Regions from separate parts of the Homo sapiens genome. Here region 1 is linked to region 2. The links are contacts of gene promoters, found by promoter capture Hi-C in blood cells and fetal thymus (Javierre and others, 2016). All regions are on one chromosome and are shown on one strand. Each heading gives the region's core, a stretch centred on a gene start or on the middle of the fragment in contact. The rest is flanking DNA. Distances are from core to core; before and after follow the strand shown. Region 1 holds the start of PKN2 (protein kinase N2). Region 2 has its middle 2.8 kb from the start of ALG14.

Region 1 (3,027 bases), core at 411-2,910, 6.4 Mb after region 2:
ATCAACCATTATACCAAAGTTTTCAAGCTTACGTCTGACTGCACAAGAAACCAAACTTATAAAGAGATTTCTTAAAAAGTATATTTAAACAAGAAATTTAGATGCAGTTGCAATACTTAATTTTGACATCAACTCTTCAGAATTTCTTGATTTAGTCTTTTTTTTAAAAAAAATTAACTGTCCAACACACAAAAAGAAATGCAGGCATGCTATTTTTTTCTCCTAATTCCCATCTACAATCTTTGAGTAGCTAAAAGATAACTATATTAAAATAAAGCAAAATAACTTTTAAGTCAAAAAACAAACATCTCTGGAACACTCCCAAGTAATGAAAAACCCGACAGGGTAGCTTAAGTCCCCATGTACACCATAGAGATCTAAAGAAAATCGTGCCTACATTATCAAATATTTATCTGGAAATGGGAAATAACATTGCTACTCGACATGACTTAACTAAGCGATCTACTTTGCTCTCATCTTTTGCAGACATGTGGTGCCCAATGTTTTCCCTTAGTCGACTGCTTTCTCATTAGTAAACAACTTATTAGCTCTTTCTCTGGTGCTCAAATGAGAGGGAAAATGAAAGTCTGAAAAGCATCAGCATCTGAGCTCCCGGATCTGGGCAGGGGTAGCAGAGAAAGGCACCCTGTATTTATCACTCGGTTAAAAAAAAAAAAAGAAAGGAAAAGAAAAGAAAAAGATAACCCTCAAAATAGAGGAAAGAAACTCTGTCACCTGAAGAGGGCTGCTGAAGTGAAGCAAACATTTGGTGAGACTCGTTTTTTAAAAAAACTTGTCTAGGGGCTGGAAGTTATGGGGGCGCTCTTTGTGCGGAGTCTGAGGGGAGGGGGAGGGACAAGAAAACAGCTTGGGAGTCATTCAAAGGAGTTTAAGGAGCGGTGTACGGAGGAAAGGCGGGGCGGGGCCCGGCCGCGCGAAGGGAGGGGGCAACAGGGGCGTTCGCGGGTAGCTCTGACACCGAGGGAGGGGGCGACGGGCCGGCCTCTCCGGGGACCAGGCGAGAGCAGGCTCCCGCTGCAGCAGGGCTGCAGAGATGGGGTCCCCTCTGGTAGGCAGAATCAAACCAAAGCGGTGGCAGGCCAGGGCTTTGGCGGGGGAGAGGGTCCGGCTCCCCAGGGAAGCGGTTCCCCGAGGGAAGCATTTCCCGAGTGACATCCCGGAGTTTCCGCACTTAGCGGGCTAGGGGCGCGGCGGCCGCAGGGCTTTCCTCGGTCCCCGACGCCGCGCGGGGCTCTCTCCCTGTCTCCTCCGCCAGCGCCTCTCACCAGGGCCGCGGCCCTTACCTGCAGTTCCGTGAGCAGAATCTCCCCCCGTTCGGGGTTGGACGCCATTGCGCTCCGGTATGGACTCCGCACCTGGACGCGGCCGCCTCTGGCGAAGGGAGAAGGCGGGACGGGGCTCGGGGTGGGGGTGAGGAGAGGGGAGAGAAAGAAAAAAAAAAAAACAACTAGGGATTCATGGAGGCGCAGCCCCTGCTGGAGGCGCGGCTTATTCCGTCCGGTTCATCGAGAGCGGCGGGGAGCTAGGGCACTCGTAGCGGGCTTCCTCTCGCCGCCCTCACCGGACTGTTCGTCTAGTCGCTCCCTCTGGGCGACGCCAGGAGCCGCCTCAAGCCTCTCCGTGCGGGCGCTGCGGCCGCGGCTGCAGCTCCTCCTGTCGCACCATTTGGCTGTCACCGCGTCGCAAAAGCGGCCTCACTTGGCGGCTGCCAGCACACGTGACGGCGGCAGCCACTGCCCCTCATCGGGCAGGGAAGGTGGGGCGGAGGGGTTCCCTAGGGCGAACGCGGCGAGGGGGCGGGGCGTCTTCCGACCCGACTCCGCGGCGAGGGCAGCCATTGGACTCGGCTGGGGTGAAAATGAGGGGAAAGGACTGGGCTCGAGTCTCTGGGGAGGCGGGAAGAGGAAGAAAACACACGCCTACTTTCCTGCTGCGTTTAACGGCTTCACTGTGAACGCTAGAACTCGGGAGCCTGCTCGCTGTTGTTTTTTCGGGTTTCGTTTTTTTTTTCTTTCTTTTTTTTTTTTCCCAGTTCCACCTTGCCGAAACTTGGGCCTAACTTTAACAGGCCCTTTTCTAACCTCCATAACCCAAAGAGCTTCGGGACTCAGATCTTACAGATTATTCCTCTGCTCTCCCCTTGACCCCCACGTCAACCCAAACTAATAATCTTGCCTTTTGCTCACCCTCAAACCCAGCCCCCAGCGCGCCTTCTCGACCAGTTAAGGTGCACAGCTAGCTAAACGGGTATGGTCTGTACTTTTCATGAAATGTAAGCGGCTGGATCCCTGGCAACTTTTAATGTACGGCCTTTAAGATGTCTTTTTCTTGAGGTTGAACTACTGTTGCTTGTACTGGAGAACTGTACAGAGCTGAGAATTAGCTGGGTTTTTTTGGGTTGTTTTAACTTTATTTAAGGGAGGGGGAGGTGGGACGGGATTACCCTCGGGAAAGGAAAAAAGCCACCTTTCCTTGGCGTGGTAAGCATTAAAGCTAACCTGACTACTTAGTAAAATATAGCTAAGTAAAGTAAATCTAGGTGTTTGTTTTTAATGACACTATGGTATTAAGGAATTTCGAAGTCTCCTACAGGTAGCTTTTGTTTTTGTTTTGTCTGAGCAGTGAATGGATAGGTAAACGCGTAACTTTTGATTTTTTGAAGCTGCGGTACAATACCTTTGTTAAAACTACCTGGAGAGAGTGGTAAGGGTTATTTAGGTACGTTGCTACTTAGAAAGGGCATTCGTTGACATATTTCTTAGGAAGTGTAACATTATGTACTTCTCACACGCTCCATGTAACTCTGTTGGCCTGATGCCAGGACTTAACGTCTATCCTTTTGCCTTCTCAAGTCTCATACATCAATTCAGCAAACATGTATTGAAGATCTGGAGTTCTGTGGCCACAGTTTCTGAACTCTAACTTATCATATGTGTGATAAAGAATTTTTCTGGTGTGTACTTCACAAGTCTTACAACTATTTATGTGTCTAGTATATTGCCTTGG
Region 2 (2,924 bases), core at 275-2,774:
TAAAACCCTGACTCTACAAAAAATACAAAAATTAGCCATGCATGGTGGCATACACCTGTAGTCCCAGTTACTTGGGACACTGAGGTGAGAGCATCTCCCGAGCCCAGGGAGGTTGAGGCTGCAGTGAGCTGAGAGCGCATCACTGCATGCCAACCTGGGTGACAGAGTGAGACCCTGTCTCAGAAAAAAAAAAAAAAAAATCACCTCCCAGACATGCTTTACTTATGACTGGTTATAGACCACATATCGTTATTCATTTTGTCAACTATTAACATAGTTTTCATGCTTTTTGCAGCACTATAATTTACTTCCATGAATCTGTTAAATGTACTGTCAGCGCAACTCATCTTCCCAAGAGAAATTTTAATTGTTGCTTCTTCTCACTCAGTCTTAACTTTCCTGATTAATCCACTATAGCTTTTTTTTTTTTTTTTTGAGACAGAGTTTCGATCTTGTTGCCCAGGCTGGAGTGCAATGGCACGATCTCAGCTCACTGCAACCTCCCCCTCCCGGGTTCAAGCAATTCTCCTGCCTCAGCCTCCTGAGTAGCTGGGATTACAGGCATGTGACACCATGCCCTGCTAATTTTGTATTTTTAGTAGAGACGGGGTTTCTCCATGTTGGTCAGGCTGGTCTGAAACTCCCGATCTCAGCTGATCCACCCTCCTCAGCCTCCCAAAGTGCTGAGATTACAGGCATGAGCCACCGCACCTGGCCTTTTTTTTTTTTTTTTTTTTTTTTTTTTTTTTGAGACAGGGTCTCTGTCACCCAGGCTGGAGTGCAGTAGTGCAAATATGGCTCACTGCAGCCTTGATCTCTTGGGTTTAAGCAAACCTCCCACCCCAGCCTCCTGAGTAGCTGGGACTACAGGTACACACCACCATCATGCCTGGTTAATTTTTTACAGAGATAGGGTCTCACTCTGTTGCCTTGGCTGGTCTCAAACTCTGAGGTTCAAGTGATCCTCCTGCCTTGGCCTCCTAGATTGCTGAGATTACAGGCATGAGCCACCATGCCTGGCCCACTACAGCTTCTTGACTTCTTGATTATCTATACATTCTGTGTCTGTCACAGCCCAGGACTTGGCTTACCCAGGTGACATTTTTGGCAGGAATTCTCAGCTATGTTCCTGTCCCTGCCTGCTACCTAGCTGCTCCCTGCAGTTCTCAACTTTCTTGGCAGGAAAACTAAAGAGTTTTATGATCACCTTAATTCAGAATAATTCAACCAATAAGTCCAAACAATGTCTGGTACCCCACCCTCTTTGATTCTCTGCATTTCCTTGCAAGCCCCCAATGTTTGATTGCTTCCATTCATTCCAGCTACATGCCAAGTGTGGTCAAACTAATATTTCCTACAGATATAGGTAATTATAATAGTGAGGGGATGAAGTAATGGGAAATGCAAGGGTGTCCTCCAAGTATTAAATCTACCTTAATATAGAGCTTGGGGCCTGGAGCTAAGTAATTATCATATGCCTGACATTTTCATTGCATGTGTCAGTTTACAAAGCTGTTTCAGACACATCATCATCACAGCAATCTAGATGCTATTGTTTGCCTACCCAACAACCCTCCCTGCAGCTTCCTCCTCACTGAGAGAATGCCTATTTTGTTCAGTACCCACCCTCCATCCAACAGCCATGTATTACAGGTGAGTTGTAGATCATCCTCCTCCCACCTCCACCAGCTTTGAAGTCGCTTTCCTTTTATGCCTGGGAAAGTGATATAAGTATGGCCAAAAGGAGTGAAAGAAAGTCTGCTGTGAGGGGTTCTAGAATAAGTTTCCTTGCCTTTAAAAAAATAAAAAATAAAGCAGGCCGGGCGTCATGGCTCACCCGTATAATCCCAGCACTTTGGGAGGCTGAGGTGGGCGGATCATGAGGTCAGGTTCAAGACCAACCTGACCAACATGGTGAAACCCCGTCTCTACTAAAAATACAAAAATTAGCTGGGTGTGGTGGCGCATACCTGTAGTCCCAGTTACTTGGGAGGCTAAGCCAGGCGAATTGCTTGAATCCCAGAGGTGGAGGTTGCAGTGAGCCGAGACCGTGCCACAGAGCAAGACTGGGGGGGAGGGGCAAAAAAGACCCGACAAGATAACCTCTTTTTTGGCTATGGAGATTGCCCTGTTGGATGTAACCATCCACACATCCCATTCTGGGACCACTAGTGTCTTAAGTATCAGGTAAGACTGTTTCAGGTTGAAGACATTATTAGGAATGGCAGAGTGGGCATATACAAGTAAATGATACTCCTTGTATTATCCTTGAGCTGTTTTTCTTACTACACCAAAGACCCTACCTCTGGACTTCCAACTACGCATTTGTAAGCCCAGAGAATTCTGATTCCATTAAAATTTGAGAGACACTGACTTCTAAGTCCACAACTATGAACTTTCTCCACCCTTACTAGCTAAGTAGACTTAGGCAAATTATTTAACTTTTATGGAATCTACTTCTTTGTCTGTAAAAAGGGAACTAATATCCACTTTAAGGTCTTACTGCGAGAATGTATAGTTAAGAAGATTTGATGGAGCCGGGCGCAGTGGCTCATGCCTGTAATCCCAGCACTTTGGGAGGTAGAGGCGGGCAGATCACCTGAGGTTAGGAGTTCGAGACCAGCCTGGCCAACATGGTGAAACTCTGTCTCTACTAAAAAAAAAAAAAAAAAAAATAGCCAGGCATGGTGGTGCATGCCTGTAGTCCCAGCTACTTGGGAGGCTGAGGCAGGAGAATCGCTTGAACCTGGGAGGTGGGGGTTGCAGTGAGCCAAGATTGTGCCACTGCACTCCAGCCAAGCGACAGAGTGAGACTCTGTCTCAAAAAAAAAAAAAAAGAAAAGAAAAGAAAAGAAAGAAGATTTGATGGAAGACAATTTGGAAAGTGTTGTAAGGTCCACGGACTCTACTCACAAAGTCTCCCA

The links. Contacts are between HindIII fragments. The CHiCAGO score rates a contact against its expected background, and 5 or more counts as called.
Region 1: the fragment with the promoter of PKN2 here is called in contact with a fragment that was not itself captured in region 2 in 1 of 17 cell types (non-activated CD4 T cells); the score reaches 7.6 in non-activated CD4 T cells.

Annotation. Positions count from the first base shown.
Region 1 is chr1:88,682,906-88,685,932 of GRCh38, reverse strand. PKN2 (protein kinase N2) reads right to left here and starts at 1,660. Exons shown (of 22, transcript NM_006256.4): 1 at 1,305-1,660. The coding sequence starts at 1,352. It overlaps PKN2-AS1 (PKN2 antisense RNA 1), which reads left to right and starts at 729. Exons shown (of 4, transcript NR_110682.1): 1 at 729-769. RefSeq lists enhancers at 1,386-1,465, 1,496-1,825. The HindIII fragment of the contact is 6,383 bases long and covers 30-3,027 here.
Region 2 is chr1:95,074,260-95,077,183 of GRCh38, reverse strand. No RefSeq gene overlaps it. Among named protein-coding and RNA genes, the nearest start is that of ALG14, 2.8 kb to the right of the region's middle. The HindIII fragment of the contact is 4,740 bases long and covers 1-2,924 here.